2 separate regions of the Homo sapiens genome follow, and region 2 is linked to region 1. The links are contacts of gene promoters, found by promoter capture Hi-C in blood cells and fetal thymus (Javierre and others, 2016). All regions are on one chromosome and are shown on one strand. Each heading gives the region's core, a stretch centred on a gene start or on the middle of the fragment in contact. The rest is flanking DNA. Distances are from core to core; before and after follow the strand shown. Region 1 holds the start of PPFIA4 (PPFI scaffold protein A4). Region 2 overlaps FMOD (fibromodulin).

Region 1 (3,250 bases), core at 493-2,992:
ATCACGACATGCTCAGCAGCACAAACCCCAACTCCACTGGATGCGAATTCCCTTCTACACCCTCCTCCCCCACACTATTCCATCTTCCAGAGATGGCGTCTCCCACTACACAGAGTGTCTAGGACATTCTTGGCCCCCAATAACCATTTTGTCATTCATTATCTCCTTACTTTGAGATACCGTTTACCCCACGAAGCCTCCTCAAGCCTCAGGACAAAATCTGAGAAAATAACCAAGGGAAATCATTCAAGCTGCCCTTTTGCTTAGGCAGCTTCCCTGGGACTACCTGGCCAGTTAATAGTGGTAGGGGGTGTGTAGGTTGGAGTCTAATTCAGACAGCTGTTTGAAAGCACGTGGACACAGTTCTTTCTTTTTCTAATCCAACAGCAATGTAACAGAATGGGGATGGGCGGTGAGAAGGGTGTTAACAGAATACCTGCTATGTGTGCCTCCTATGTGTACCTTTCAGCTACTCCGTGGCTGTAAATTGCCTTCAGAAGACCTAGCACCGAGCATAGTATCTGGCAGATAGTAGGTGTCCAACAAATGTTTGCTGGATGTTGAGCAAAGTACTAGGTACCAGATCCAAGAACTCTGGAAAGGACTATGGGAAATCCCTGAAACCTGGCTCCTGGAGGGGACCCTTAAGCTCACACCAGGAGGGGATCTCCCTGCGAAGCAGCGCCTCCTTAACCACTTGCTCTCCACACAGAACGGCCCCAACTCTCCTGCTCCTCTGATGGAAACTACCAGCACACCTCTCCTCAAAGGTGACATCAGCTCCTAGTGGCACCTTGTCCTGGATCCCTCCTCCTTCTCGAAGAAAACCACCTACACCATGTCTCCAAGTCCTCCAGCCCGACCTCTCTCTTCCCACCCACCATCAAAACCTCAAAATCTGCGCTGGAAAACATCCCTACTGCGTGGACGTAAGTCAGCGCCCCACTCCCACCCTCCCAGTTCAGGCATCTCTATTCCAGCCCTCTTTTCCTGTTGCGCCCACCCCTGTCCCCACCCCCACCAGGCCTCGGGTTGGCCGCTCCTTCCACCCCACCGCCCTGGCACTGCGGAGATGGGGGCATCTCTGGCACAGACTGAGGCTGGCAGTTCGAGGAATGGAGAGCTAGCGACAGGAACAGGGGTGCTATGAGCAACTCGGGAAAGATTAAGACCCCCGCGAAGAGCGAAGACCTCAGCCCATCAGAATCGCGTCCCCAAAGGAGTGGGGTTGGCCCCGGAGCCGAGAGGCGCTTTTTCTGACTCTCCTGGAGGGGAAATGGGGGCGCAGTCTGCTCCGTTCCCACCGGGAGACTCGCCAACTCGGCCCCCTCCCCTGAAGCCGATGGAGCAGAGGGCGCACTCCACGCCCTCCCCGCAGATCAGGCATCGCCCCTATCCTCACCCCCAAGGGCACAGGGCACCGCAAAGGAGGGCGAGGGGCGGCAGGGTAAGCAGTACCGACGCCTGCCGGAGGTAGCACATACGGAGTCAAAAAGGGCTGTTTCCCGAGGTGCGATAGACGAGACCCCTCCCCAAACTGTCGAGGGGAGCTGGAGATGGGGAAAAGACGCATCCTACCCCAGTCCAGGCTCTGGGCGCTCACCTGCCTGCAAATGCCGAAGGCCAGGCGGCTAGGCTCGGAAGCAGCAGGGAGCCGCCCCCGACCCGTGCAGCCCGACACGTCCTAGAGCCGAGCCGGCGCCGAGGTAGCTGCAGCCTCCGCCGCCCAAGCGCGCGGCCGCGGGGCCCCGCCCCCTTCCTCCGCGGACAACCCCCCCCGGCTCCGCCCCCTAGGCGGGGCTGGGCTGCCGCGACCGAGGCCACGCCTCCCGCCCCCAAGCGCCTCGGGTCCGGGCACGTGACGAGAGCGCCGCTTTGAGGCCGCGCGCCATCTTGGTTCAGCCTAGGAGGTGGCGAAGTGCCAGAGTTTTATTCCGCAGAAGGGTCTCAGGGCCCAGGAGTGCTGCCCACATTCTGCCCCTCCCTCTGAACTCGCCCTTGTTCCTAGTCTAACAGCCCGTTCCCTAAATTGGCCTTAGTCTCGGCCTTGTAATTGTCAAGTTTGTCACCTTTCACGCTTGCTCTCCTGCCCGTTCCTTGCTTTTCCTTTGATCGCACCCATTTTTTAAGTGGGGAAACTTGATATCCGGATACTACATCTGTAGTATGCTCTTCAGTGAATTGTGTCGCTTGCCTTCAGGCACCTGGCTGTTCTAACACTGTTACTACAAAATGAAGGGTTTGTCTATTACATATACATAGTATGAAAACAAGTCTCAAATGCCAAAATTCCTGACTGACAAATTTTAGCTAAGCCTCTCCATTTTCCTGAATTGCTCCCTTACCCTGCCCCCTGTGGCTATTAATGCATCTTTTCCATCTGCTTTGTGAAGTTTCATCACAGTGCCTACTCAATCCTTTACCAATACCCAGTAAGCACCACTAAAAGTGTGAACAATTTTTATATACATGCAATGTGTTCATGTGTGTGTATTTATAGATATATACACAGCATGTTCTATATCAGCAGCAAATGCTATAGTTGAGATCAGTGACACATACAACCTTCTCTCATTTATCTTCCACCCAATATATTCACCATTTGGCATAATTTCCTTGCGTCTCTTTGAAGACAGGGAAATCTTGAGTAATTCTGATCTGAGGGGTGGGTAAGTGAAGCTAAATCTGTGACCCTTGAACAACAGGGCCTTCAACTGCACAGGGCCAGTTGCATGCAGATTTTCTTCCTTCCCCGCCACCCCTGAGACAGCAAGACTACCCCTCCTCTTCTTACTCGTCAGCCTGCTCAACATGATGACCCACTTAATGAACAGTAAATGTATTTTCTCTTCTTTGATTTTCTTAATAACATTTTCTTTTCTCGAGCTTATTATAATAAGGTATATACTACATATACAAAATGCACATTAATCAACTGTTTATGTTATCAATAAGGCTTCCAGTCAACAGTAGGCTATTAAGTTTTCGGGCAGTCAAAAGTCATAGCAGATTTTCAACTGTGTGAGGGTCTGTGTCCATAACTCTCACAGCGTTCAAGGATCAATTTATGTTGCTTGACAGAGCAAAATCACAGTATATAACCTGTAGTCCAGAAAGTTCTAATTCTTCTTCGGGTGGTCTGGGGTCCTCACCAAAAGGAAATCCCTGAGACACTTCACATCCTGTCACTAATAAAGCATGTATCATGCTAGAAACGGCAACTCAGCCAATGCAGAGGAAGGCTGAAGCC
Region 2 (3,542 bases), core at 671-3,170, 320 kb before region 1:
ATGTGAGGGCTGTATGTGACTCTTCCAGGCCAAGAAAGATTCTAAGGTTTCTCTGTCCAAGGGTGACACTCAGGAAGATGCCCACTGCTCACAGGAGTATGTCATGCATTGGCTATAGGTAACCAGGGTAGGGTACCCAGGCCACCCCTAGTCTCTTACCTTCCATACCTTTAGTTTCCCTCTCAGATGACATCAGACCCACATTTCCTCTTCAGTCTGCCCTGTTCCTATCTCATTAGCACAACAGGTTCAAAAGCAACAGGTTTCCAGCAATGTGGGGACCTAGACACAGAGCCTGGTCATCTAGGTGTCATCGCTGGGAGCAGGTAGCTTGGGAAAGGAGAGGAGAATGTCAGGGTCCTACCTCAAGCTGCTTTCCCTTGAGCATACACAAGAGTTTCCAATCTCTAGCTATTCTTTTGGTGTCCCTCATTCATTTCTCTTGGCCCCACATGGCTCTTGCATGATGCCCATGGTGGAGCATGAGGAGTGCTAACACCTTACTAGGCACCATGGAAGAGAGAAGCAGATTAACTCAGACTTCACACACTGAGTACCTGCTTTAGAAGGCAAGTGCCACACCCAGTGCCAGGGTCCTCAGTCTGGAAAGGATTTGTAACTGCTGCATGAAGACCCTGTCCCAGCCAAGTTGCATGTGTAGCCACAAACTGCTAACCAGTGAGTTTCCTCACTCAGCAGACTGTTACAGATGATGGCACTTTGGAGGGCAACCTGAGCCTTGTGGTGGCTGCAGAGGGACCACACTCCTCCCCAAACACTCAAGACCAAAAACTCCCAGCCTGCCCAAGAGACCAAAAGATTTTCCAGATGTAGTTCAGCTCTTCCCCTTCGATGCGTCAAGCGGCTTCTGGAGGTCTCCCATCCTAGGGCTTTCTCCTTGGACTCTTAGAAAAATACTATTTCCCCGGAACATCCAAACTGGATTTGGGTTCAGATCTGAAGAGCATCCCACTACCATCCTTACCACCACACCACAAACACAGGGATTGCTGTGGGCTTTTCAGCTTTCCCACAGGACTTTCAGAGTGCTAGAGGCTCCTAAGAATCTGCCCCTCCAAAAAAAAAATGCAGCTGTTCCCATTCAAAGACATTCTGTCTGTGACTCTATGACCAGGGGAAAATGCACTTAGCTCACCCCAAATAGCCATGGTCCGGCTGGACCAAGTGCAGAACCAGACTGGGAGGAGGCACCGAAGAAATGAGAGCAAGGCTCCTGCTCTCAGATGTTTGACATGGAAGTCAGCTCTGCATAGCTCAAAGCCTAAGGCTTGCCTACTCTGCCTCACTGCCTCTGTGGAGTCTCACTCATGCTGGCTTGCTCTGTTCTCTCCCGCTTCTTGCAGAGACAAAATGCAGTGGACCTCCCTCCTGCTGCTGGCAGGGCTCTTCTCCCTCTCCCAGGCCCAGTATGAAGATGACCCTCATTGGTGGTTCCACTACCTCCGCAGCCAGCAGTCCACCTACTACGATCCCTATGACCCTTACCCGTATGAGACCTACGAGCCTTACCCCTATGGGGTGGATGAAGGGCCAGCCTACACCTACGGCTCTCCATCCCCTCCAGATCCCCGCGACTGCCCCCAGGAGTGCGACTGCCCACCCAACTTCCCCACGGCCATGTACTGTGACAATCGCAACCTCAAGTACCTGCCCTTCGTTCCCTCCCGCATGAAGTATGTGTACTTCCAGAACAACCAGATCACCTCCATCCAGGAAGGCGTCTTTGACAATGCCACAGGGCTGCTCTGGATTGCTCTCCACGGCAACCAGATCACCAGTGATAAGGTGGGCAGGAAGGTCTTCTCCAAGCTGAGGCACCTGGAGAGGCTGTACCTGGACCACAACAACCTGACCCGGATGCCCGGTCCCCTGCCTCGATCCCTGAGAGAGCTCCATCTCGACCACAACCAGATCTCACGGGTCCCCAACAATGCTCTGGAGGGGCTGGAGAACCTCACGGCCTTGTACCTCCAACACAATGAGATCCAGGAAGTGGGCAGTTCCATGAGGGGCCTCCGGTCACTGATCTTGCTGGACCTGAGTTATAACCACCTTCGGAAGGTGCCTGATGGGCTGCCCTCAGCTCTTGAGCAGCTGTACATGGAGCACAACAATGTCTACACCGTCCCCGATAGCTACTTCCGGGGGGCGCCCAAGCTGCTGTATGTGCGGCTGTCCCACAACAGTCTAACCAACAATGGCCTGGCCTCCAACACCTTCAATTCCAGCAGCCTCCTTGAGCTAGACCTCTCCTACAACCAGCTGCAGAAGATCCCCCCAGTCAACACCAACCTGGAGAACCTCTACCTCCAAGGCAATAGGATCAATGGTGAGACCTTGGCAAAGGGAGGCGGGGACTGGCTGTCTATTTCACTTGAAAGACACTATTCTGAGTGCTAGTGGCAAAACAAAAGAAATAGAAATAGGGGAACCAGACAGCACAAATGAAGCAACCTGACAACCAAGCCATACCCCTGTACAAAAGAGAATACACTTATACTAAATAGCAGTGCTAAGACAATTCAGTGGGGAGTGGGTTGGTACAGAAGAAGACTTTCCAGGAGAGGTAAGTTTCATTCCAGGTCTTGAGAGATAAGTGGGCATGGGTTGGGGGTATGCAGGATGGAGACATTCTGGGACAGAGGCTTGCCACAAAGGAGCCAGTCATTTTCACAGGTCACCTGTCGATGTAGGGGACAGCTGGGAAATGTCACGTGTCTGAGATGAAGGGGTCATGTGTCAGGGAGCAGTAAGAGATGAGTTCGGAGAAGTTTAGGAGGGAATACTTCAAAGGGAGGGAGATTTAAGTTTAGCTTCTAAAGTCTGTTTCAGGAGAATGGTGGGTTGAAGCCCTGCACTTACTCACTGTCCCAGAAGAGGATGAGCTCTCTTTTTCCACTTGAACTACTCTTGCGTCTACAGCCTGGTCTTGTGTTTTGGTGTTTATTCTCAGAGCTGAATGCGGCACTTGTTCTGGTCAGTTCTTCCTGGAGTACAAGGACCCCCTGGTGGCAGGGCAGATATCCTTCCTAGGGTAACATGAGCCTGACTACCACCAAGCCTAGGACACTGGGCTTCCTGTTTCATAAGCACTTCCTTGCAATGCCCAAAGGAAAAAAAAAAAGGCTGCCTCCCTGACTCTAAGAAATATTCATTTCAGATGGAATTATCTAGCTGATTTTCAGCTCCCTTTAGTCTTAGGATCTAGTATTCAGAACATGCTTACATTACCCCAGGGCTTCTGATGTCTTAATCCCAGCTGGAAGGTACTGAGCCAGCACTTGACCTCCCTTCCTGTCAGCAAAGTCCTCTTCCATCTGGAGAAGGGAGGACTCATTAACGACCACTGGCAAAGGGCTTTGAAGTGGAGCCTGCTGAGATAGAACCGCACCATCAAAGCGCTGAGAAGAACAGAGTCGTCACCCTCTCCCTCTCATTCCTTTCTCCCCTGTGCTCAGGGAACAGATCAGTCATTGAGCAAGATGTTAACAAGCTGGGCAGCCCTCTGAGTGAGAGAGGCA

The links. The method cuts DNA at HindIII sites, captures the fragments that hold promoters and counts their contacts. A CHiCAGO score of 5 or more calls a contact.
Region 2: a contact is called between a fragment that was not itself captured here and the fragment with the promoter of PPFIA4 in region 1, in 2 of 17 cell types (neutrophils and M0 macrophages). The highest score is 6.5, in neutrophils.

Annotation. Positions count from the first base shown.
Region 1 is chr1:203,024,983-203,028,232 of GRCh38, reverse strand. PPFIA4 (PPFI scaffold protein A4) reads right to left here and starts at 1,742. Exons shown (of 30, transcript NM_001304331.2): 1 at 1,604-1,742. RefSeq lists an enhancer at 1,295-1,816 and a silencer at 1,643-1,952. The HindIII fragment of the contact is 10,467 bases long and covers 1-3,250 here.
Region 2 is chr1:203,346,100-203,349,641 of GRCh38, reverse strand. It overlaps FMOD (fibromodulin), which reads left to right. Exons shown (of 3, transcript NM_002023.5): 2 at 1,365-2,350. The coding sequence starts at 1,372. Among named protein-coding and RNA genes, the nearest start is that of FMOD, 3.3 kb to the left of the region's middle. RefSeq lists an enhancer at 3,105-3,542. The HindIII fragment of the contact is 6,064 bases long and covers 1-3,542 here.